Linked DNA regions of Homo sapiens: all the other regions are linked to region 4. Evidence: promoter capture Hi-C in 16 types of primary human blood cells and fetal thymus (Javierre and others, 2016). All regions are on one chromosome and are shown on one strand. Each heading gives the region's core, a stretch centred on a gene start or on the middle of the fragment in contact. The rest is flanking DNA. Distances are from core to core; before and after follow the strand shown.

What was found. The method cuts DNA at HindIII sites, captures the fragments that hold promoters and counts their contacts. A CHiCAGO score of 5 or more calls a contact.
Region 1: a contact is called between a fragment that was not itself captured here and the fragment with the promoter of VSIR in region 4, in 4 of 17 cell types (M2 macrophages, M0 macrophages, M1 macrophages and 1 more). The highest score is 6.3, in M2 macrophages.
Region 2: a contact is called between a fragment that was not itself captured here and the fragment with the promoter of VSIR in region 4, in 5 of 17 cell types (megakaryocytes, naive B cells, monocytes and 2 more). The highest score is 5.9, in megakaryocytes.
Region 3: a contact is called between a fragment that was not itself captured here and the fragment with the promoter of VSIR in region 4, in 4 of 17 cell types (total CD8 T cells, naive CD8 T cells, monocytes and 1 more). The highest score is 6.6, in total CD8 T cells.

Annotation. Positions count from the first base shown.
Region 1 is chr10:71,292,785-71,299,042 of GRCh38, reverse strand. UNC5B (unc-5 netrin receptor B) reads right to left here. Exons shown (of 17, transcript NM_170744.5): 12 at 5,470-5,638; 13 at 5,110-5,343; 14 at 3,083-3,232; 15 at 2,301-2,465; 16 at 953-1,134. Among named protein-coding and RNA genes, the nearest start is that of SLC29A3, 23 kb to the left of the region's middle. RefSeq lists an enhancer at 2,776-3,583. The HindIII fragment of the contact is 7,740 bases long and covers 1-6,258 here.
Region 2 is chr10:71,347,735-71,353,981 of GRCh38, reverse strand. SLC29A3 (solute carrier family 29 member 3) reads right to left here. Exons shown (of 6, transcript NM_018344.6): 4 at 2,194-2,420. It overlaps LOC105378353 (a long non-coding RNA gene), which reads left to right and starts at 5,915. Exons shown (of 3, transcript XR_946051.3): 1 at 5,915-6,080. RefSeq lists enhancers at 2,028-2,528, 2,529-3,029. The HindIII fragment of the contact is 1,633 bases long and covers 1,878-3,510 here.
Region 3 is chr10:71,331,539-71,337,818 of GRCh38, reverse strand. All of the region lies in intron 2 of SLC29A3 (solute carrier family 29 member 3), which reads right to left. Among named protein-coding and RNA genes, the nearest start is that of SLC29A3, 15 kb to the right of the region's middle. The HindIII fragment of the contact is 4,820 bases long and covers 2,164-6,280 here.
Region 4 is chr10:71,770,956-71,777,289 of GRCh38, reverse strand. VSIR (V-set immunoregulatory receptor) reads left to right here and starts at 3,770. Exons shown (of 7, transcript NM_022153.2): 1 at 3,770-3,932. The coding sequence starts at 3,851. All of the region lies in intron 38 of CDH23 (cadherin related 23), which reads right to left. RefSeq lists silencers at 3,541-3,870, 3,891-3,970. The HindIII fragment of the contact is 7,388 bases long and covers 2,552-6,334 here.

The sequences.
Region 1 (6,258 bases), core at 1,868-4,367, 480 kb after region 4:
GGCACAAGGGGAAGTGGGAAGGCTGTGAGCTTTGGTGTCCCACTGTCCTGGGTCTGAATTGCAGCTACTGTGCTGCAGTCTGTGTGGCTCTCGGCAATTCAGAACCTATGGCTCAGAATCTCAGTCTCCTTGTCTCTAAAATGGGAACAATGCCAGTTACCGCTCAGCAAGATCCAAGATCATATAAAGTAAGGGTCTAGCGTTGTCTCTAGCATGTAACCATCTTGTTCATCATCATCATTATTATCATTGAAAGACACTGGCCCCAAGAGAGAATGACCACGTCTAGCATGTGGTCATTCCTCCCACCCGTGTTCCCTCCTGCTCCCATGAACTCCCCTGATAGGAGGAATAAAGCCTTAGCCATCTTTGTAAGTCCTATTCATTTCTAGTAAAATGTCTTATCTAAAGCATATTTTATTTATTTATTTTTTGAGACTCAATGCAGGTTTATTACACATCTTTCAATAAGTATAATATTTATTATCATTGGCCTTATATTTATCCAGCACTTATCCAGCATTTGAGGTTCTCCAAAGGAGTTTTGACACCAAAGTGTATCTTGGTCAGTCAGCAAGCATCTCGCAGCACATTCTCTGTCCTAGATACCAGGTGCTGACAATGATGGCACCAAGCTGATGCCCTGGCTTTGAGTCTCCTGCTGTTCGGTGAGATGGGCAGGTGGAGCATTATCCCCACACAATGGGAAAAGAGCAGGGTCTGAGAGTCTGCCTGGCTCAAGGACCAGTGCTCTGAGCATGATGCTCCTCAAGGGAGCAGTATTCTTGAACTTTGCATATCCAATCCTGAGTTGCTGATTTGCCACAAATGGTGGCAAAAGGGCAGCTGGTCTGGGAGATGGTCGTGGCTGTCAGGCTGCCTGCCCTGCCTGCCCCTGTGAGACCTTGAGGACGAAGGCAGATGGGGATGGGCTGTGGTTTGGGATACTCACCGGTCCATAGAGAGCTTCTGTGCTAACATCCGCCAGTCATTGCCCCGTGAGTTGGGGGCATCTAGGCTGTTGCATATCTTCTGGCGGATGGACAGTGGGATCTTGAAGGCATAAGGTCCCAGCTGGGTGGTGACAGTGCTGCCAGGGGCAGAGCAGAGAGTGTCCAGGGAGCCAGCAGGTGTCTGCAAGGGTGGGGGCCAAGAGTGAGAGGGGCACAGTGCTGGGCATCTGCCCTCCAGCCTCCCTCCCCTTGGACTGTGAGCTCATTGAGCCTTGAGTCACTCCCACCTCCTCTGGACAGACTCCCACTGTTCAGGCAGGGGCTTCTCCCTTGAAGGGTCGGTTCCCAAGGGCAAGGCCTGCATGGCCACCCTTCAGGCCTCAGGGGGTGCACCATGCTTACCTAAGGCCCCAGGCAAATGCAGATGCAGCCTCATGGTTAGGAAGCCCCAAGGAGGCCCAGCCACAGTCTAATCCACATGCACCCTCTTGTACAGGTGGAAAGTGAAGTCTAGAAAAGGGGAGTGGCTTGCTCATGGCCACATGCCAAGTTAGTGGCAGACCTGGGTCCAGACCTGTATCCAGTGCTCTTTACAATGCCCCAAGAGGAGGATCTAGTGTTGTCACCCTGGGTGGCCTGGGTTTTTAAATCTCAATCCGGATTTTTAACGGTTGAGAACCACAGGCCTGGTCCTTGCATCAACCTGGGTTCGAATCCAGTCTTGCCACTGGTGTACTGTGTGCAAATCCTTGCCCTTCCTAAAACCTACTTTCTCACCTCCCAGGTGGGGATGATATCTGTCATGCATCTCCCGGTGCTTGTGAGATCATGTAAGTTTTTTGGTATATGCCAAGCATGTGAATGGCACTCAATCAATAAATGACACTTGTTAGAAAAACATGACCAGATACCCGCTCAGACTTGGGAGGTGAGAGGGAACTACAGGGTTCTGTGTGCTGCAGCCCAGCCCCAAACCCTAGAGGTATCCTCTGGCCCTCACCTCCACCAGCGTGGTGTGCAGCTGGAATATCTGGCGGCCCTTCCCTCACCTATGCCACAGTGCTGTGCAGCCGGAATATCTGGCCGCCCTTCCCTCACCTCCACCAGAGTGGTGTGCAGCCGGAATATCTGGCCGCCCTTCCCTCACCTCCGCCAGCGTGGTGTGCAGCTGGAATATCTGCCCCACCCTTCCCTCACCTCCGCCAGCGTGGTGTGCAGCTGGAATATCTGCCCCACCCTTCCCTCACCTCCGCCAGCGTGGTGTGCAGCTGGAATATCTGCCCCACCCTTCCCTCACCTCCGCCAGTGTGGTGTGCAGCTGGAATATGTGGCCCCGACTTCCCTCACCTCTGCCAGAGTGGTATGCAGCTGGAATATCTGGCCCTCCCCTTCCACTTGCCGCACGCAGATCTTGCAGGTGAGCTCTGTGGAGGCCAAGCTGTGCCTCTCCAGGGTGAAAGTGCAGTGGAGGGCCTTCTGGCTGCCACTCCAAATGTGATAGAAGGGGATCTCCTGCAGGAGGAGGGGGTCAGGACCAGGCAGGCAAGGCCAGCCTGCCCTGTCCTCATAGAAATGGAGGCTCAGGGAGGGTTGGGAGCTTTGGGGGGCAGTTCAGGCCTCTCCACCCAGATAGGGAGGGGTCAAGTGCCCTAAGCTAGCCAGCTGAGTTGGTGTCAGGCCCTCAGTTCCAGAAGGGAGCTGAGGGTGGGTAGGTGGGGGAGGGAAAGGCACAGGTGTGTGTGTGTCAGGGGCTAGGGGGCCTTGTGGTCTCAGGCGCTGCTGGGTGGGCAGCGGGCTGTGGCTGTCAGAGATGAGATGGGCAGTCTGCCAGGAGGGCATGCCCTGAAGGGTGAGGAGCCTCTGTGAGGATGAAGGGCATAGTCGTCTGTGCGTGTGAGGGTGTGACAGGGCAGAAGTGTGCATGTGGCTGCCCATTGCCCTGAATTTGGGGACGTGCCTGGGGATGGCTGAAAGCCTAGAGACTGGGGTGGGAGGAGACAGAGACAGTGAGAGATCCAGGGAGGGGTAAGGCCACAGGACAGAGCTAGGAGGCAGGGCCCGGGAGGGAGCTGGGCTTCCCGGGCAGCCCTTAAGTGGTGCCCCTCCCCATCCATCAGCCCAGCCCTCACCTGGTATTTGGCCAGCAGCTTGCTCCTCCAATGGGCATGGGGGAGGTCATGGAGGGAGAGGCGCAGGTTGTGGTAACTGTCCTTGAACATTAGCGGTTTCGGCTCCTCCACCAAGTATCCGCCCAGAGTCCGCTCCAGCTCCAGCACCTCCTGTGGGCCAGGGGCATGGGGAAGGGGAACCCATCACACCTGGCCAATGGGCCTCTTCTGTGGCACTGTGCGGGGCAGGGGGCAGGGGCCCATCTGAGTGCATGGCTGGGCATTTGCAAGAGCTCACAGAGGGCTTATGGTGTGAGAAGATGAATAGATGACGGATGGATAGACAGACAGTGGGAAAGATGACTAGATGAATGAATCTATAGATGACCGTATGGCTAGAGGGACTAATAAATGGACAGATGGATGGATAAACGGATTGATGGCTAGAAAGACAGACAGATGAATATACAGATGGATATACAAGGATGGGTATATGAATAGAAAGATGGAAGAAAAGATAAATGAATGGATAGACGAGCAATGACTGGGTAAACAGATGGGCTGCTGACTGAATGGGTATATGGTCAGATGAACAGAAAGACAGATGGATGGATGAACAGATGGACAGATGGATGGATGGAGGGTTGAATAAACAAAGAATGCCATCAGGCCCAAACCTGGTAACTTCTCTCTTGATTTCTATACCACTCTCTGGCCAAAGCTGGCCATTAGCCAACGCCCCAGGACCAAGAGATCCAGCTGCAGGAGCACTTCCCAGGCACCTTGCACCCATCACAGGGCCACTGGCATCTCAAGCCAGGGTCCTCCCAGCAGGGGACACTCCTTCTCCCATGGGCCTTTCACCTATGTTGTCTGCAGTGTGGGCTTTGGGACAAGTCCCATGAGCCTGGGAGATGAAGGAGCTGGACGGGGCCAGGGAGCAGGAACAGAAAGTGCATGGAGCCATGGGAAAGGACCATGAGGCGCTGAGGAGGGCAGATGGGAGGAGGGAGGGGAAGGGGCTCACACACGGCCAAGTGTCTGTATGCTTCCAGGGTTACATCAGGATGAGCCTGAGCTCCTGAGAATGGGAGGAGAACTTGGGGGAATGCACAAGGGCTCTGAGGCTGGCAGGGGACAGTGGTGCTAACACGGGGCTCCATACCTGCCATCATCAGGCTCTAGGTACTAAAAGACCCTTCCCTCCCCTTCCCTCCCTCCTGTCCCAACCACCCCTCATCTGCATGACCCTTCCTTCACTTGGGGCACCGCTCTCCATCCTTCTGCATATGCTAGGAGCCTGGCTGTCAGCCTTAACTTCCCTCTCCCACTGCCCATCCCATCAGTCACCGGTTCTGTCCATTTGACTGAGCACACGCAGCATCCAGCCCCGCCTCTCCTGGCTGCTGTCACTCCCTGTGGCCCAGGGTCCAACCCCAGCTTCCCAACAGGCCTCTCCACCTCTCATCTACCCACCCAAGTATAGCCACAGGGGCTTTCTAAAGAGCACCTGTGAACAGGTGTCTACCAGGTCCATTCCCCTTCCTGCCGGATGGATTCCAAATTCCTTGGCAAGGGGCCCTGAGGCTTCTGGGAAGCTGAGCCCTGCCCATCTCGCCCGCCCTCACATTCACACATTCCCTATGCCTTTTAGTTGGTCATGCTGAAACGCTTATGAAACGCAGTCATTTCTGTCGGTCTGGAATGCCCTTCACTCCTTTCTGCTGAAACTCCTACATGTCAGCCTTCTCAGAGTCCCTCCCTACCAGCCCAAGCCCCTCCCAGTCTGATGCTCCCTCAGTCCTGGGGCAGACCCCATCAGAGCCTTCAGGGATCCCTGGTCTGCCTCCCACCTCTAACCTGGATCTTGGTGAGGCAGGCCCTGTGCCCAAGGCTGTTTCAGTGTGTGAGGGTCGCAAGCGGGACCTAATAATGCTGGTGGCGGGGAGGGGTTCCTGGGAGGACCCATGAGCCTGGGGTGGGGGATTCTGGCAGGGATCATGCAGCTGGCCGGCCAGGGCTGTGTGGGCACCTGCAGCTGGCCCTACCTTCAGTGCTACAGGCGTGTCCTCCAGGCAGTAGACCCGGAGGCTGTACTCCAGGGAGGTGCAGAGGGCGGGGGCGAAGACGGCCAGCTGGAGCCGCTTGACTGCTGAGCGGGAATAGGACTCGCCCGTGAACACGTAGGTGCCCAGCTGGTCCAGCAGGATGTGACAGGCCCTGGGCTCCAGCTGGCAGTAGCAGGGTGTGTTCAGGGTCTCCTCATCCAGGGTCACCACCTCCTGTAGGGGACAGCAAGGGTGGGGTAGTGGTCACAGTTATTCAGGCTGGGCCAGAGGAAAAGGGCTTTCTTTTGCCTCCCTGGGCAGGTTGGGAGAGCTGGGCCAGCCTTCACCGTGGCTCCTCACCTCCCAGTGGCCCTGGTGGGCCTGGGTCTTGAGCTGAAAGATCCAGTCACGGGCACTGACTTCGGCACAGTGGGGCATGGTGAGGATGACGGGGCGGCACAGCAGGAGGCCTGTGGGTCCACAGGTCACCGAGGGGCTCAATACTGTCTGGGTCCCTTCTGAAAGCGGGCTGGAGGAGGACACAGGGTAGGAGAGAGGCAGTGAAGAGCTCGGCAAAGGTGCAGGCTCCTGCTGGGCTCCCAAGTCTGCCCAGGGCCCGGGAGGTGGAGGGCAGCTCTTTGCCACTCAGGGCTCTGCATTCCCAGAGGTCATGGGGGCAAAGGAGGCAAAGAAAATGGCATGAACCTTGAGGTTGTTTCCAGATTTTTGCTATTCCACTGCAACATTATCATAGCTCAAAATTCCTGGCTTATATTTTCCAAGGTTGTGTAATCTTGGAAGGTTTTCAATAGGTCACGCTAAAGTGCCCTCCAGGGAGCTGGTTCCAATCTATACTCCCGGCCACGTGCCACAGAAGGCCATGTTCCCACCCCCTTGCCAGCAAGAGGGTATTATCATTTGGGAAAAGGTCCTTGCAAATTCCTTAATAATAATAATTTAAAAATCCCAGTATACCTTGTGGTGGTTTTCATTAGTTTTCTCTGCAAATTAGACTAAACATTTTCTCATAACCTACTGGCCAGTGTGTTTGTGTGAGACAGTGTGTGTGAATCACGTGTTCATATCCTTTGCCCATTTTCACAGTGAGATGTTTACTTTTTCTTATTGATCTACAAAATCTCTTTACAT
Region 2 (6,247 bases), core at 1,445-3,944, 420 kb after region 4:
TGCCCCAAGGAGGAGATCTTAACATCACTGCCTACTGATTTTCCTCTCTCTCTTTCCAACTTGTAGAGAATTTACAATATTATCATCAACAACAAACCAGGCCTCCGGGAGCTCATCCTTCATGACTCTCCACTTTTATCTCATCAGTTATGGAAATACATGCAAATGAGGGGTTTAAAAAAACACCAGCGCAAAACAAATGAATTGTTCCTCAGATGCCAACGCGTGCGGAATTCACAGACGGGCTGTGCTGGAAAAAAGCAAGTGGGGCTGGCGAGGTGGTCTTGTGGCCTCTGGAAGACTGGGACACCTTGATTTTCCAGGGTGTTGGGCACCCACGAGGGCCCAATACAGTGGTGACCACGGTTTAGACTCAGGGTCATTAATACTGGCGTAGAAGTACTAAACTTCCCCACTTTTCTGAACGGACTTTCTGAAAAATCCATAGGAGACTCCCCATCCCTAGAAGATCACAGGTGGACAGATTAACCCGAGGACCGCTTGCCAATGTAAATGGTGAGTTTGGTCACTGGCTCCTGGAGAGCCTGCCAGCAAGGATGGAAGGAACTAAGGGGATAAGAGCCTCCTTCTGAGATGGCGGTGACAGAAGGAATTAAATCCCATGTCCAGTGGCCACTGCCTTCAGTCCAGAAATGCCCGTTTGAAAGCATCGCTGATGCATGTTGCCTGCACCCAGGAAACTTAGCAACAAGTCCATTTTTATTTTATCTTAGGCCCAAGTGTTTCCCAGGATACAGCCAGAAGCCTAATCTGATCTCAGAAATGGCAAACAGATTGAAGCTCACATCTAGACTCTGATCTGCTGAGAGTAACTGCCTCAAGTGCTGCGCTGAGAAGGATTTAGAAGCTCAGGATGAAAGATAGAGATCCACCAGTGATGTCTGGCACTGGCTCGAGTGGGGAAGGGACATACCCTTGTCAAAGTATTGTCATCCTGGCCACATGCTTCCTGGCATTATTAACTAAGGGGCACAGCACAGGTTCCTTGTGAAATTGCTGTCAGTGGGCAAATGTTTAGAGCTCTCCTCTGCATAACAGGGGCATGTGGAAGGGCAGACACAGCAGCAGAACCTCCAGTCTTGCTCCCAGGGACTGTGGCCTCCTGGCAAAGCACCAATGGTTCCTGACCCGCTCCTTTTTACCTGGCTGGGTCATCTGGGTGAGAGATGTGTGTGTCTCCAGCTTAGAGAACAAAAGTGCCAAGGCCTCCGGAACAGGCTCATCAACATCAGCATCAAACATCAGCTAGAGGGGTCGGCCCACGTCGTGCACAGGCATACCCACGGGATACCAAAGCTTGGGGGTGCTGGGGGTGAGAGTTTATTCACTGAGCCATCAGCTCCGAGGGGACTGGTGCTTGTTCATCTTTGCATCCCCAGGACATAGCAGGTCCTCTATAAAATCAGAAAGGAAGAAAAGACAGAAGGAAGGAAAGGAGACAAGAAGGGGAAGAAAGATAAGGAAAAGGAAAAATAGGAGAGGAATAGGAGAAGGAGGGAAGGAAAGGGAGGAAGGCTGGTTTCAGGAATTGCCTTTTGTAGGCAGACCATGTTATCCAAAAATAGCTGCGACTCTGTCTCCCCTCCTGCCTACCTTCTCACAGTCACGGTGGGAGACTTTCATACTCTCCCAGAGGTGGGTCCATCTGTCTTGAGTCTGGGTGAGCTTATGGCTATGGCAGAACTGACCCTATGTGGCTTCTTTTGCTAAATCAGAAATAAAGCTTCTGCCTGGATCTCCTGAAATGCCGGCTTTTGCAACCCAGACACCATGCCATGAGGAAGTCAAAGTTGCCATTTGAGGTCCACATAGAGAGGAACGGAAGTCCCTGGCCCCAGCCCAGCCCTGGCTAAGCTTCCAGCCAGCAGCCACTATCAACACGCCAGCCAGGAGGGCGTGCCACCTGGAACTGGATCCTCCGCTCCCCGTCGAGCTATGCTGGCTGATGCCATGGGGAGAAGAGAAGAGCTACACCTGCAAACTCCTGTCCAAGCTGCAAATTTGTGAGTAGTAGAAATGACCGTTGTTGTTCTACAACACTAGATGACTGAAACACAATCAGCACCCATGCCATTTCCTTTTCAGAAAAGGCCACCACATGCTCATCTCTGGCTCCCTCCCATGACTCCTGGGTGGATGAACCTGGTCAGCTGCCCGGACCCTGGCTCTCACCTGATATCAGTGCCTGGGAGTTCCTCATAGGAAAGGAGCCGGTCATGCCGTAGATGCTGCTGCTGAAGACAGTGGAGGCACCGCTGAGGATCACCATGCAGACAATGGTGACCGCAAAAAAGCCACGGGTCCAGGAGGAAGTGTCCACCTTCACCAGTGCAGTTATCACCATGAAGATGGCCAGGATGACCGTCAGTGAGGCCAGGACACGGATGTGGACTGCAACCCTGGGGCGAGGATGCCAGAAGCAGTTAGACACCCCTTCGGGGCTCCTGTGTGGGCTGGGGCTGGTGAGCCACCTTAAGGGAAGCAGGCGAGCTTAGCAGTTAGGACTGTTCACTCTGCAGTCAAGAGGCCTGCACTCGAATCCTGCCTTCCCGGCTCCCTAGCTGTGTGGCCTTGGGTAAGGGACTCAGTTGCTCTGGTTTCAGCTTTTGAACTTGTACAATGGGGAGAGTTGATTCAACTCACAGGGGGGTGAGGCTGAAGAGGTGAGCAGTGTGGGGTGCAAGCGGCAGTGCCTGGCTCAGGGCCAGCGCTCAGTGGGTTCTGCTGCTTTTCACCTTGCTGTGAGGTTCAAGGACACGAGGACACCAGGATGTTCAAGGCAAACCCCTGCTCTTCCTGCCACAGGGCTGAGCTCCTGCTGGCTTTGTCTAGTGTTTAAACAGAGCAGCCACCCACTGAGCTTCCTTTCCCCAAAACTTAGCAGGAGGTTTGGGGGCAAAGGGAAGAAGGAAAGAAAATCATCGTCGTCATCTTCATCATCATCGTCGCCATAGCAAACACTCAAACAGTGTTTAATGCATACTTTTCTAGCACTCTTCTAGGCATTTTCTGTATGCCAGTGTGTTTGATTGTTACACCGGTTCTGTAAGACAGGTATTCGTACCTATCCCATGTATACAGATAAGGAAGCTGACATCAGAGAGGCTGAGGAACTAGCTCAAAGTCACTCAGCAATGAACCCAGGAGGCCTGGCTCTGGTCAGTTCTCAGAATGATGCTCTACTGCCTCCCCTGGAGTGAGGAAATATGGATGGCACAGAAGTGGTGGCCAGGGCAGGGGCATCCTCCTGTGATGGCCTCAGTCATCATGGGGAGCAGGTGATGCCAAGTTAGTGCTGCCTGGGGCCAAGGGAACCCCCACACTCCCCAGCACCATGCCTGCATATGAGCCATGTACTCTTCCCAGCCCCCATACTGGCCTGGGGAGAAAAGCAGGGAAGGATTCTATCTGAGAAGCTGCACATTTTTATTCTAGGAAGCAAGAACATCATCTCAAGGGGCTGCTTAAATCATCAGATTAGACTAAGCTTTAAACCGGATTGGATGTGTAGTTAATTTTCCTGCTAACCAGTGGGAGGGGGCTGGGAGAAAAGCCAGATTACATACTTTTTTTTAATTAAAAAAAGAAAAACTTGAAAGGTAGGAAAAATACACACACACACACACACACACACACACACACACACGTAGGTGTGAAATGATGAGCAAGAAAAGCAAGAAAGGAATTTTTTCAAAGTGCTTTTGTGGCCCCAGGCTAATTTGAGTTTCCCTCTGGTCCTCAGCTAAAGGGAGAGCAGGTGCTGTCACTGCTTTCTAAGGGGTATGAGGAAGCCCAAGAAATGAAGGGACAGTTCAAGGTTGTGGAGTGAGTCTGTAGGGAGCTGGGATGAGAACCCAGGTGTGCTGAGCCCCAGCCCATCACTCAGTCTGTTAACATGTGTACTCAATGGTGTGGTCATTCCGCAAATGTGCATTGAGCAACTACTGTGTGTCCAGTACTATGCTGGATGCCCAGGACACGGGACAGACCAGCAACAGATATGTCATCTCACTGTGGTAGGTGCTCCATCAGGAGGCCCCAGGGCATCACACAGCACATCTGAGGGGCACAAAACCCACCCTGGGCATCGTGGAAGGCCATTTGGAGGCAATGTCTATGCTGGATGGTAACGACGAATGGGAGGATATAAGTGCATGTGTCTTGGGAGAGAGAGTGAGGCATGTTCAGGGAGCTGCAAATGGACTCTGGCTGTAGTCAAGATGCGAGCAGAGGAGCACAGAGGTGATGCTGGGGAGAGGCGTGGACTCATGTCCTGGAGGAGGGCGGGGTGTGGGGCCTTTGTCTGCCAGCACAATGTTCCCTGGGAGAACATTCCTTCGCCTAGTCATCCTGGGGAGGTGGTCAGCCAGGTTGCCCACACCCACACCCACACAGCCACAAACAACAGGCATGTGACGCAGCCTGGGGCAGTCAGTGTTGCCTGCTCCTAGACCCTGGGGTTGAGTTAGGAATTAGCATGTGACCCACATAGGATCTTTAAGTCTTCCCTGGGACTGCTACATGGGAGCCGTGGAGAGAAGCTCACTGCCGAGACTGTGTCTGGGGCTGCTGGCTGCCATCTAGCCAGTTGCGTAGGGCGAGGCTAGACATGGAGGAAAAGCCATGCAGAGACACACGGAGCCCAGGGGTGGTGCAGAGGAGATCCCCTAGATCCAAAGATGCCTAAAGGTGGACCTGCCTTTAATTTTCACTTAAAGAGGACATCCTTTTATTGTGGGTACTCAAAGTACCCACTAACGCAAAGAGGTACATCAGGGTTTCAAGCTGGGAATGATATGGTCAGAAGCTACAGCAATGCTGCTGGTGTCCTGCCCATGTGCCCTCCCTTTTACAACTCCAGGAGTGGTGTTACTTACCTGGGAGTGACAGGTAAGGAACACCTCCTAAGAGCAGCCTTCAACCAATGACTAGGGAAGTTGGTACATAAATACCCCAGCTCCCTCCTGCTCAGCCATGCTCCACACTGGCTCTCCAAGATCCCCAGCAGGACTGTGTTCTTGTCCCTCCTGAAGGAGCTGACTTGATAAGGCATCCTCTGCTGACTGCCTTCCCTTTCCTGTCCCCATTCCATACTCTCCCACCTTCACCTCCCAGATAAACTACTCGCATTTGAATCCTTGTTTCAGGGCCTGCTTGTGGGGAACCTTGCATTAAGATGCCCATGAAGACCTCACACTGACACACATCTTCTCAAGGTCTGCAGGGGCTTTGGCCTGGACAGGAGCTGTTGGGCAGCCAGGTAGACACCTGGACCCTTGGCGGCCCGGAGCATCTATCGTAAGAGTACAGCAGGGGCCCTGGAGGCCAGCAGTCAAGACTTACCCCTGATGCTCGAGGTGGTCCTACACACTCAGCTCTGTCACACAGTGTCCCCACCCTCTCCTAGCAGCTGGAGCTGTCCCACCCACTCCCAAGATAAGGGCCAGCAGGGCATGGAGCCTGAGTCAGGAGACCGGAGCCCTGCCCAGCTCTGTCATCGGCTCTCCGTGTAACCCCTGACAAATATTCAACCTCTCTGGGCCTCAGTCCCTTCATCTCTAAAAAGAAGCAGCTAGACCCGATAATATTAAGGTCCCTAACAGCTAATGATTCTAAATCTGAAAAAATTCAAGTGGAGAGAGAGGTTGGGAACAAATGCCAAGAAGTTTGAACCAGTTCCTTGGGGCAAGAAGGAGGCAAAGGCCAGGCTGGAAAGATGAGGCGCGCTGCAAAGGCAGAGCCCTGCCTTGTTCTCCCCCAGCACAGGCACAGGGCCTGGCAGGCACTGGGTAAATATTTGCTGGATGTACAAATTGACAAGCAAGGGAGATCAGTAGCACCCGGGGGTGGGGAGGTTTCATGCTGGTCTGAACCTCCCAGCGGCTGTCTGCTTCTTGATCCCTGCTGCCTCAGCATGGCAGGAAGTCCAGCTGGAAGCATCCGCCAGCCTCGGGAATGGCCTCTGCCTCTAACTGCCTCCTCACAGACACGGCCAGGAAAAAGTCCAGCAGGAATGGTGCAGCATCATGGGAGCCCTCCTGTGTGCCTGTCGCTACAAGGTAATAAGTTCCTTGAACAGGAAGGTTGTTTTGCAGAGAGCTGGGGGACTGCTTACTCAGGTACCCCCAGGGCAGGAAAGTTGGGGAGGAATCAGAGAGGAGGAGGTCAATACCAAATGCATTCCAGAAACGATGCAGTGTGGAACGCTGCTCTGTCCCCTCCTCTG
Region 3 (6,280 bases), core at 3,324-5,823, 440 kb after region 4:
GCTCCGTGCTAAGGGTCTCTTCTGGAAGAATTCAATTCCAGGCTCAGAGTCCAGGTAAAGAGGTTTCTTCGGGCAGGGAGGCCCCGAAATGAGCCCGTTTATCTCTGGCAGACCCTGGTTAAGCTTTCTCTTCCCTGAATGCCATTTGGGCACTTTGAAATAAGTGCAGCAAATTAGTCACGAGCTGCGGCAGACTCAGTGTCCGTGCTGCTGAGTGGCTTCTGCGAGGCAGCTTTGTGCAGCCCCCACCTCCAGGAAGCAGCAGCAGAGGCAGCTGGGCTCCTACCGGGCGGGCGAGGAAAAGCGATTCAAGCCTGGGGGTGGCAGCTCAAGGCAGCAGAGCGTTACCTGGATCACAGGGGCATGAAATTAGCAGCAGCGAGCAGGTTGGAGCCAAGAATAGTTTGCCATTGCAAACTTGCCGCTTTCGGATAGCTGAGTTCTGCGGCCTGGGATATTGCAGGGGAGGTGCCCTTGCCCTGGGCATCAGCCCAGATCATTCCTGAGCAAAATGAGGTGAGCAGAGGGCAGATGTCCCCATAAGGGGTGGGGCTGGTAACCTTTCTGCAAGTTCCAAGGCCCTGTGTTTGGAGCACTGGCTCAGGAAAGATAATGGGTGTGTGGCCAAGGGCAGGGACCAGCTGGGAGGGCTGGCTGGGCAGGGAAGGGGGGCAATGCCTGTTCCAGGGGCCAGGCAGGAGGCTAGATGCAGCCAGGCTGAAGGGGAGGCCAGAGGCCCAAGGGAAGGACAAATCTGGGGTCAGAATCAGACAGGTAAGCTCTGGAAAATGCTGGCCAGACAGACGAAGCCACTGTGGCCACCCTAAGGAAGAGGGTCCCCATCTGACCCTTGCATGCAACCGTCCCTCCTTTGGCCTCTCATGACAGCTCCAGGCCTGGGCTCACTGTAAATCTTGCTCTCTGAGCACCCCGGGGCTCTCCCCAGCCTTCAATCCTTTCTCACACCTCCTCAGGAATCCCTGCTGGACGATGAGCAAAGTTCCTGTCTTCTGGAATGAGCTTCCCCGCCTTCCTCCTTGCAGTGTGTGCAAGGCTTTCTGGAGCACACCTCCTTTCCACTCCGCAAAAAGGGCTCTTCCTCCAGCCTAAGCTGACTTCCTGGAGACTCACACCATGAATCCCACCTTTCTTGCCTGCATTTTCTCTTTCCCTCACTGCTGCTTGTTCCTTTCTCTGCTGGCCAAGAGACTCTCTTAGGTCTCCCTTTGGGTAAAGAAAAAAAAACTACTTTAACTTTGCTGCCTCCAGGAACCAGGCCCCTCCTCCCCTTCACTCCACACTCCTTGAAAATGTAGTCCATGTTGCCACTGCCAAAGCCGTGTCCCTCCCGGCTGCCCTGGGGAAACATTTCCTCTAAGGGTCCTCAGCGTCCTCCTCGCAGCCCACCTGTAACCAAGGCCTGGTCTTGTTCCTCACAATCCAGACACTGCATGCTACCCCGTCTAGAGGGGGCTGAATTCATGCCCCCAAAATTCATGTCTACCCAGAACCTCAGGATGTGACTTATCTGGACATAGGGTCTTTGCAGACATGCTTAGTTAAGAGGAGATCCTACTGGAGGAGGAATGACCCCTCAATCCACAGTATACGGGAAAAGAGGGAAGGACACACAGACACACAGGCAGAGGCTGCGTGAAGACAGAGCCACAGACTGCAGTGATGCTGCCATGAGCCAAAAAATGCCAAAGCAGCAGCAAGGAAATGTTATTCCCTAGAGCCTTGCTTTTCAGCTACCCAGTTTGTGGTACTTGGTGAAGGCAGCCACAAGAAACTAATGCAATGTCCTTCCAGCACTCCTCTCCTCCAGATTCACAAGGACACACCCGCCCCCACCTCCACACTTCCTCATCATCTCTGTCCACCTCTGGCTCCCTCCACCATCCCAAGGTGCCCCCTGAGCTCCATCCTTCGTTTCCTGCCCTCCTTTTGTAAGGGTGGGGGTGGTGGTAGGAGAAGCTCACCTCCCCTGGCTTCATGACCTCTACCCATACATCCGTCTCTTCATCCAGAACAACCGCTTGGGGGTCCTGCTGAGCCCAAACCCCAAGCTCCTCAAATCAAAGGCCTTCAAGAGAAGACTCCCAAGCAGCCCCTCTGAAGGCCCCATGGTCATCCTCCTTTTCTCAGCCCCTCTTCAAAGCTTCCTTGGTTTCTCCTTCACCCTCACCCCAGTCAATCACATCTACTGGCCCCGTCTCCACATCACCTGACTATGGCTCACGTGTCCACCCAGTCTCCCCTCGGGTTCTAGCCTCTCCCCCAGGCATCCCCTCCACGCCTTTGCTCAAGTTCCTCCCTGGGCCTGGCCACCCTCAGCCTCTGCGCCTTATAAATCAGCCTCCCTGTGACTGCCACGCCCCTCCTCCTTGCAGCCTCGCTTCCAGGCCCCTCCTGCACCTTGCTGCATTGTCCCCTCGCTTGGCTCCTTTGCCGGAAACCTTGGGGGCTCCACTTGGAGAAATGATGGGGCGCGTGGAGGCAAGGGTGGCTGAGGGCCGATTCGCGGGTGGTCTCAGGCAGCTGCCTAAAGAGGGGTTTTGTTTTGGAAGGTACTGGGGAGCTCTGGGGGCTTCTCAACGCCAAACAGTATGGGGGGCAGTGCTGGGTGTAGAAGGAATCACCTGGCAGAAATGGGTGGAGGGAGCAGATGGGAAGAAGCAGGTAGCAGTGGTTAATTTATTCATTCATCTATTCACTCACTAAAGGTGAAAGGCAGTTGACCTTCTAGAGCTCATTCACTCATTCAACAAATGATGGCCAAGCAGCTTGTATGTGCTCAATGTGTTCTAGGGGCTGGGAATGCCAGTGTTCTAGGGAGGGAGGCACAAAAAAAAAAAAAAAGAAAAAAAAAGAGTCAACAGCAAGTGGGGGGAAAAAAGACTGCAAATTAGGATAAATGCAATAAAACTAAAATACAAATAATTGGCTAACCTAGAGCCTGGACAGAGGGAACAGCGTACGGTTGGCCCTGAGTCGGGAATGAGCTTGATGTGCTCAAGCCTCCACAGGGGTGAGCTGGAGTATGAATGGGGATGGGGGGAGGCTGGGGCCCAGGCAGGTCCGGGTGTGCAGGCTGTGGTGGAGGTGCACTGCGGGATCACGGTGCACAATCCAGCGATGGCGGTTCTTCCTCCTGTCCCTGTCTCCTCTCCACAAATACTCAGAGATGGATTCATCCTTCTGCAAATATTTACTGAGCTCGCTAGATGTTGTAGACATGGGAGATTCAGCTCAAGTTCCTGCCTTTATGGAACTGCCCATCTAGTCAAAGAGATGGCTAGCAAATGCATAAACAAATAGATAATAGGCCAGGCAGTGGTCAGTGATATGAAGACAAATTCAGCAGGGTAGGTACCACTATAATAGATCACAGAACTGGGAAAGAGCTGTAAGTGAGTGTTCCCAGTCCAGAGGTTAGCAGCGGGTTACCCCCGGGCCAAATCTGCCCTCTTCCTTTGTGTGAACACTGGAACGCGGTCGGCCTTCGGTCAGCCCATTTGTTTACATGTTGTCAAGGGCAGCTTTCACTCTGCAAGGGCAGGGCTGAGTAGCAAACAGAGACTGTGGGGCCCACAAAGCCTAAAATACGAACCATCTGGCCCTTTGCGGGAAAAGTTTCTGGGTCCCAATCTACGGTCTCATATCTTCATTCCTCAAAGGAGGACATGGTCTCAAGTCACCCAGCAAGTTTGAAACACAGTCAGAAACAGAAGCCAGCTCTCCTGAATCCAGAGTCTTTCTGCCAGGCAGGGTGAGCAAGGAAGATGGAAACCTCATTTCTACCTACCTTTATACCCTGCCTCGGCCAAGCCTTCGCAAGGTCCCCTAGCAAGGGGCAAGCTGACTGCTCTGATTCTTATCCCCTTTATTCCCCTCATGTACTCTCAGGCTGTAACCAGAATAGGCAGAGTAAGGGCTCAGAAACCAAGGGGTCAGAGAAACAGGGAACCTCACGGATCCATGCACGAGTGACCCCAAGCTCCCTGAGGATGAGCTGATCAGAGGCTCAGCCACTGCTGATGCTCGGGCCAGCCAGTCTTTCCTCTTCTGCAGCCTGACTTCTGCCATGTGATAGGGAAAAGAGGAAGAAGGCCTTTCAAGAAAACACCCCACCTACTCTTGCCTGACCGGGCAGGCTTCTGCATCCCCCAGAGGGTCCCGTGCATCAGTGTCACAAGGCTGATGACCAGGGACAAGGGCCATGCCCTGTGGCCTGGTGGTAATGAGGAGGTGGTCTGGGGGTGCTCCAGCCTCTCTCTGTAGTAGAAAACCTTAGGGACCATCAGGAAGAGGGAGTCCTTAGCCAACCCCTGGCAGGCACTTCCTCAACAACAGACTGCTCCCGCCTTGGGAAGGCTGTTTCTCTTTGGAGGTGCATGTGGGCAGAAACCACAGGCTGCTCTAGGCCTCAGGTGCCTGCATGCAGACAGGCACAGACGTGCACAGAAACACAGGCACATAGGGAGAAACAGCAGCTGTCCTCTGCCTCCACTAGAGTACTCATTAACCCATTAAACAGGCAAAGGCTGTTACACAGTCCTCCCAGGCAGTGAGGACCGGCAAGAGGCCAGCAAGGAGGTCCCAGGCACCCAGTGCTGCAGACCCTTCCCAGGCTGCCTGCCTGTGTCAAAAGCGCTGGGCTCCTTGGTGGAGACTCTAATTTAGGTTCCGCTCTCTGGACACTTGTGATATCAATCATGTTAAAGAGACACTGGAGCACTTAAGGTCCAGGCCATCTTCTAATTTGTCCAGGAAATCGCCTCTGGATTTTAAGGATATATGCAGGAAGAAATAAAATCGAAGGCAGAGAGGGAGCAGTCAATAGCCTGGAGGGCAAGGGAGCGCAGCGCGGGTGGGGAAGAAGGGTCGTGAGCACTTAGGGAGAAAATAAGAAGAGAACTAGAGAAGCTGAGGCCACCAAAGGCATGACTGACAGCGTTTCAAACTAGGCTTTTTTCCCCTCTGCAGGATGCAGCAAGAGCTAAAAACAGAAGAAAAAGCCATCACAGGTGTATTATTTATTGGGAATGGCACGCTGGCTGGGCCCGCAGTTAGAATCAGAGGGTGGACAAGGGGATTTTAAAAAATGACTCACTTTTGGTTCTAATTTTTAAAAATGGTGTAGAGCAGTCATCCACGCCAGCCAAAGCAACTGGCAGCCACTCATGCACACCCAGTGGCAGAAAGCCTGAAGCCCATGCTGCCTGACCTCAGACTCCCCATCTCTTTTCCTAGGATGACAAAGCTCAGGCAAAATCCCACTTTAATACACTTCTTTCTATGCGGGGAGGAGGGGTGTTGTGCCCTTCTCCACTCTTGGGAATTCTGCTCTTAAACATTGGATTGCTGGTAGGGTGCAGTGGTTCACGCCTGTAATCCCAGCACTTTGAGAGGCCAAGGTGGGCGGATCACTTGAGGTCAGGAGTTCAAGACCAACCTGGCCAACATGGTGAAACCCCATCTCTACCAAAAATACAAAAATTAGCCAGGTGTGGTGGCGGGCGCCTGTAATCCCAGCTACTCAGGAGGCTGAGGCAGCAGAATCACTTGAACCCGGGAGGCAGAGTGAACCCAGGAGCCAAGATCGCACTACTGCACTCCAACCTCGGCGATACAATAAGAATGTGTCTCAAAAAAAAAAAAAAGAAAAAAAAGAAAAAGAAAAGAGAAGAAAAAAGAAAAAAAGAATAAAAGAGGATTGCAAAGGGAGTCTAAACATTGTTTCCATTTGGAGAGAGATCTGAGTAGCACTAAAACGGTTCTGCAGGAACACCACCTGGCACAAAGGAGAGACTCCTAGATACCTGCTCCCCTGGCCAGCTGGCAACAGGACCACCTGGCAACAGTGCCCAGGCCTCACCCAGGGAGATAAAGCCATCAGGGAAGGGTCTAGGAATCCGGGTATTTGGCAAGTGTCCCAGGAAATCTGATACTGATTCAGGTACCCTGGGCTGCCACCCCCCTTCTTATTAGCTATGTGGCACCAACGAGTTACTTACTGTCTCTACTTTCCTCCTCTGTGGAATGAGGACATGACGCATCCTCATAGATGGCTACAAAGTTAGGGGAAACAGGCAGAGCAGGGTTTTTCAAACTACAGGTTGCACAGCTCATTAAAGAATATGAAATTCATTTGATGGGTCACGACCAGAATTTTATTTTATTCTATTTAATCCTTTGTTGCCTTCTTTCTTACTAAAGGTGAGTGAGCTGTCTGCATCTTTTTCTGGAACCCTTCTCTGTGCACCTGAGCCCTCTG
Region 4 (6,334 bases), core at 2,521-5,020:
GTCTTATTGAGCCTATATGTCCTGCCAGACTACAAGAGGCAAGAATGTGAGGCACTCGGCCCAATGCCATATTTAACCTTCATCTATTGTTCATGTAAATGAAAGAAATACATATTTTCAGCATTTCCAGAAGGAGGACATTGGGTTTGTGGCAATTTCGTGGGCAGAACTTGTTGACCTGTGAAAAATAAGACTCACAGAACATAACTTCATTCCAAGAACAGCTTCTACAACATACTCTCCTGTGATCGGCCATCTCTGCCAATGCTTGAGTCAATTGGACCACAAGTAATATTCAGCTAATCAGAACTCGGCAATCAGCACTCAAGAATCAACTAGAAATGGTTCTTGCTCCTGCTTCCTGCCTTTCTCCACCTGGGAAGATGTCCCCTGTGGACTAACTGCCTTACCCTGGCTCCCTTGCTATCCAGCTTCCTGCTGGGTGTGGCCAATGGGAGGCCCTGGCTGAAGATGAAAGCAGTGGGGAGAAAGAGGCGGGGGTGTTTCTTCCACACTCCCTCCATTCCTCACTGCGGTTCTGCCCATGGCTGTGTTTCTCCTGCTTGGGGACAGGGGTCCCCCTTTCATAGCACCAGCTTTCACTGGGCTCCAGAACATCACTTCCTCTTCTTTCCCTTTGGACATGTGAGTGGTAGTGGCTTCCTGTGGTTGGTGCTAGTCTCTGGGTGCTTTACCAGCCTTCCTAAACAGTCCCTGTATTAAACTCTCTTCAGTTGAACCCTTTCTGAGTGTGCCATCTGTTTCCTGCCAGGACCCTAACTAATACAAATCATAATGAGTGACTAATATAAAATAATAAGGTGTTAATCACTGCAAAGGTGTCTGGGTAGAGAGAACGTGACTAGGCCATTGCCAGGCCAGAGAACAGAAAGCAGGTGGTACAGACAACTCAATGTAGGCAATTTGCATATGGTTTTTTCCTTGGGACTGGCTGGCTCTGGAGCTACCACTGGAAGAATGGACAGATGGGCAGGGGATCTGGACCCAAGAAGGCTGTCACTGCCCCTGAGGAGGCAATGATTCCTCTGATATGCAGCTCTGGATCTTGGGGGTGGAGGGCATTGGGTGTTTGCTGAAACGGTTTCCAAAGCAGATAGGGTTGGCAGCCTTGAAAAGGAGCTGCGTGGCCTTGGGCAGGTCACATCCCCTCTCTGGACCTTTTCTGTCTGTTTAATAAAGGACCTGGCTTGATTTCTAAAGTTGTTTCTAGCTCAGGGAGTTTGGGAGGTGAGTTTGGGAATGTGGGAAATGTCAGCATCCCCTCCCCAACAGGGAGGCTGGAATTCAGCCCCTTTCCTGCAATGTGGTGCTCTTGTATTCTTGCCGGCAAGTAAGGGGACTCAGGAAGGCTCAAGGCTGGGCCCCTCACCAGTAGAGAGTACTCACAGCTGCCTCCAGGCCCTGCAGAGCCACAAGATGGACATGGTGGCTTTCCTTGACAGTCATCTTTATTCGAATATTTGGGGCCTTCACCACTATTTTTAATGAAAACAAGCACAAACACATGATGGAGTGTGCAGGCTGCAGGGGCTGGGAGTGGAGAGTTTGAACAGAGTTGGGCCTTGGAGCCCCTCCTGCTCTGAGACCAGGTCTGGGCTTGGGGAGGGAAGGTGGGTTTGACTTCCTCTGGTCTCGGAGGGAGGAGAAAGTCAGTGCTCCAAAGGCCCTCTCAGCTGAGCCCTTCCTGTCCTGCCCTGGTGTTGAGGAAACAGTGCTTGAGGTTTCTGGACCATGGTCCTTGGGCAATGCCTGTGTCTCACCCTGATGCAACCCCAGGAGGCTCAGTGGTGGGCAGTGTGGTAGGGAGAAAGGAAGTGAAAAGGGGGGAGGGAACTGGGCCCAGCTCAGAGGCTCTATCCCCCTGGGGAAGGGGTTGGCAGGGCAATTGCTCCCCTTTCTCTAATTCCAGGCCCTCCCCGGCTGCTAGGCCCTGGGGAAGAGGGAGTCTGGTTTCAAGGGTGTCCTGAGCAAAGCCAGTCCAGGAAGGGTTGAGATGGGGTGGTGCTCTAGGATCTTGCCCTTAAGGGACCCCCCTCACTTGCCAGAGGATGTCAGGGTGAGAAGGGCCCGGTGTCCACCTGATCTCAGTTGGCTTTGTACCTCCCCTGGTGGAAGGGAGCTCATGCTATGCCAGCAGGAAGGGCCCTGGGCTGCCTTCCAAGGTGGGGTCACAAGGCCAGGAGCATGCCCAAGGACCTGGGTTATGTCCTGCCAGCCTCTGGGGCTCCCATCCTGGGGAGTTCACTGGCTCCAGGGGGACTGGGCCTGCACAAGTTCACTTAGTAATAACATGATGCCTCAGCCTTCCTCTGTTGTAGCCTTCCCTGCCCTTAGAGCAAGGGCTAAGGGCCTCCAGAGAGCCCGTGACTTGGATCAGGCCACCCACAAGGCCCCCAGGACTCCTGGCTCCCATTGAGTCCTGATACCCTGGTTCCTGACCCAGTCAGACTCTGAGTGTCCTCTGCCTCTCAGCCTAGGAGTCACCTATTAACCCAAGATCCCTAAAGTGCCAGAAAAACCCCTGGAAGCTTCAGCTAGACTGGGGTAAACTGAGTAAAATGGCTGTGCTCTTCCACTCCTGTGATCCCTGGTCCTGGCCACGATCACCTCTGCTCCTCCATCACACAATCACTCACTCACTCATTGGTTTGTCCATTCAGATAAAAGTGCAGTAAAACCTTCTCCACGCCCAGCTTTGTGCTAGGGTCTCAGAAACATCAGAGAGAGGTTTGTAGTTTCGCTCTGGAGGGCAGAACAGCCGGAAGAAGAACCAACTGCTGGTTATCTCAGGCTGGAGGTGGTAGCTGAAGGGGGTGTGGACAGTAAGGATTTGCCGGGAAAAAGGAAGGGTCAGGACATTTCGTGAAGTGGGAGGACTTGAGCTGAGCCCTGAGGGATGAGAAGAATTAGGAGGGGAGAGACATTCCAGTGGTGCCAGCAGTGCTGGGTGTGGGTGCAAGAGCAGAGGCACTAGAAGTTAGGGTGCATCAGAGTGTCCTGCAGATATCCAGGCACCAGGGAGGGAGGGCGGGTGCACAGCCAGGCGGACAGCTGAGGCCTCTGCCGGAGGGGAGCTTGCAGGATGTGCTGTGGGGCACGCCAACAGGTGTTGCCTGCATATCTGTGTGTGTCCCGGGGTAGGGATGTGCTGATCTTGGCGTGTAGTCCTGCACCTGTTCTGTGTGTGTGTGTGTGTGTGTGTGTGTGTGTGTGTGTGCGCGCGCGCATGCACTCAGGGTGCCTCAGGCTCTGAATCTACAGTTAAACTGGCTCCAGCTTGCCTAGCTCTTCACAATGTCAGATTTCATTCATTCACTCATTTACTCACTCATTCCACAGCTGGGAGTGCCTACCACATACCAAGCCCTGGTCTGGCTGGAGGATGTAGGGTACAAGTCTCTGTCCCCAGATCACTCAAAGGCTGGTGGCTGAGGGCAGATGCAAGCCATGGTAACGTCTATCACGCTGTTAGAGGTAGATCTACTTCTTAGGCTGCGCAGCAATAATAATTTCTCTCCAAAAGGACTGGGGGACGGTAGAACGGGCTTTAAACTGCCGATCAAGTGGAGCTGACTCGCTGGGACGCACGCTGGCTCCCCACCCACGGGGCCGGCCTCCGGGAAGCCCCTCCCACGCGGCCCTCGGAGAGGCAGTTCCCCCACACGGCCCCCCGGGGGCGCTGCGCGAAGGGGGCGGGTGCCTGGAGCACGGCGCTGGGGCCGCCCGCAGCGCTCACTCGCTCGCACTCAGTCGCGGGAGGCTTCCCCGCGCCGGCCGCGTCCCGCCCGCTCCCCGGCACCAGAAGTTCCTCTGCGCGTCCGACGGCGACATGGGCGTCCCCACGGCCCTGGAGGCCGGCAGCTGGCGCTGGGGATCCCTGCTCTTCGCTCTCTTCCTGGCTGCGTCCCTAGGTAAGGTCGGGGGAGGCGGGGCGCTGGGAAAAAGCTGGGAGAAGACAGCAGACTGGAGTGGGAACTGTGGGATGGGGGCGTCCTGGGGGCCCTCTCAGCCTGTGTGACCGTGCACCCCACTCCACCCACCGCCCAGAGGCTGCTGGGACCCCTAGGCAGGGTGCAGTGGCAACTGTGCCAAGTGCCCCAGCTAGGCATCGGGCACATCTGCATGCTCTGACAGCTGCCCAAGTGGCAGGCAGGGCTGTCCCCTGAGGGCTGCCTGTCCAGCCCTTCCCTGCCCAGAGAACCCAGGGCACAGGTAGCTTCTGCAAAGAAGGAGAGGCACAGGGTGGGGGCGGTCAGTGTGTTCTGGTGGATATCACTGGCTTTTGACAGCTGGCATCTTTCTGCCCCTCTAGTCTCAGGGCTCTAGTGTTGCAGAGGACACAGAGGGCGTGGTATGCTCAGCCAGTGCCCCATGCCCTGGTGAAACCCCTGGCTGAGCCTTGGTGGGCACTGGGCACTGGTCACGGTGGGTCCACTTTCAGACACAGAGGCAGCACTGCCCACCTGGTCCCTATTCTAAGGGTCTGATGGCCCAGGAATAAGTGGTCAGCTGATTCCTGCCATCCTAGCAAGGCTGCCACTCAGGGACCAGTGTGGAGTACTGGGGAGGATGTGGGACACTCTTCAGCTCAGCTATGAGCCCCTTCTGGGTCCCTGGATAAATTACGGCATCTCTCTGGCCTCAGTTTCCTCAGCTCAAACACAGAAGCCCACACAGGGAAGCACCATTTTCCCCTTCCAAAGTCCAGACTGTCAGCATGTTCAGATAGTATCCTGGCCCCAACACAGGGGCTCCCGGGCTGGGGGCAGAGGCCCTGGTACCCATGGCCTGGTTGCCTAGTTCTTGCCTGCCCAGAGCTGAAGAGGCTGGATCTCTTCAAAGAGCCTGTGGAACCAAACTTTATAGGGAGGGCCCAGGGAAAGTATGAGTCATGCAGGGACTCGGAGGGAGGCAGGAGGGAGGTGGAGGGCTTGGCACAGGGACCCAGTGGGCAGGATGGAATAGAAGGAGAGGGTGATAGGATAAGAGGGAGAGGAGGAGGCTGAACCTGGAAGATACCTTAGCAACCTGGGTGCCCACAGGCAGCTGGCTATCTCAGCACTTGGAGGCTGGCCTGGGCCTCTGAGGAGGAGGAGGGCTCCACATGTCACAGACACAGCTGCCCTAAGCCCCAGGGTGGATGCTTCTCAAGGTGACAGTCAGAGGGAGGAGGAGAATGGGAGGTGGAATGGACAGTCTCAGCACCAAGGCCATGGCTCATGGCAGGGCATGGCTTCCAGAAGGAACAGAGGATGGTGGCAGGCAGGCAAGCCAGCATCCCACCTGTCATGGGCCACCTGCCCTGCACTGCCCTCCCTGGTGGCCCTGTGAGACCCTTCCTGCTTTCTTGCCCACTTCCTGCCCTCACTTGGCTGGGCTGCCCTCTGTTCAGCAGCCCCAATTTGAGAAACATTTCTAGAGATCCAGGGCACAGGGACCCAGCTTGCAGAGCACCCAGTAGCAGAGAGGCCCCAAGAGGAGCTCAGGACGCCTTCCCCTATATTGCTTATATGGCCAGGGGCCTTTACTCCCAGAGGTCTTGGCTACTCAAACAACATGGTATACTAAAGGGTCATCTCTTCCTGGGCCCAGCACAGGGAGATGATTTAGGCTGGCTGCAGCTTTCCACTGAAAGGAGCCAGAAGCATTTGAATTGCTCTGGGACCTCAGGATTCTGAACTGTGACATGGACACACTATAATAGATATTCACCCAACTCCCTAGGACAGTGTGCACTGAGGGAGATAGCAGATGGGAGGCCTGGTTGCAGGCATGGTCAGCAGGATCTGTAAGTTGAGAAGATTGATCACCAGCCTGCCGAGGTGCTGGGTTGCCCTGGGTATGTTGCCCAAGGTCAAAGCCTTTATGCCAGGGAAAGTGAGATAGAGTGGCCGGGGCCAGCCTGTTCTCCAGCTCTTGGGGTTGGGCCAGCACTGAGGAGAATGGTAGTGATGAATGTGGTGTTCAGAAGCCCAGGAAACACCAAAGATACCCCTTTCCTGGGCCTGACTCAGGGTGAGATGGGTGGAGAGGTACACTTAGGGACCAGGACCCAGCAGATCTCAAGGGTAGCAGAGCCTCTTCTTCCCCACAGACATTCCCAGGACCCGAGGCAGTTACTGTCCTTGCCCTGTCCTCACAGGCTGACTCAGGACTCCCAACCTCTGGGACTAGCACATTTAAGTGCACTGGGGCTAGGGACGAGAGACCCCATCTTCTCCTTCATAGCAAACCAGGCTGCAGGGCCTTGTTGAGTAACCCAGTGCTGCAAGCCTCTGACGCAGCAATGGTCAGCTCTTAGGAAATCCACAAC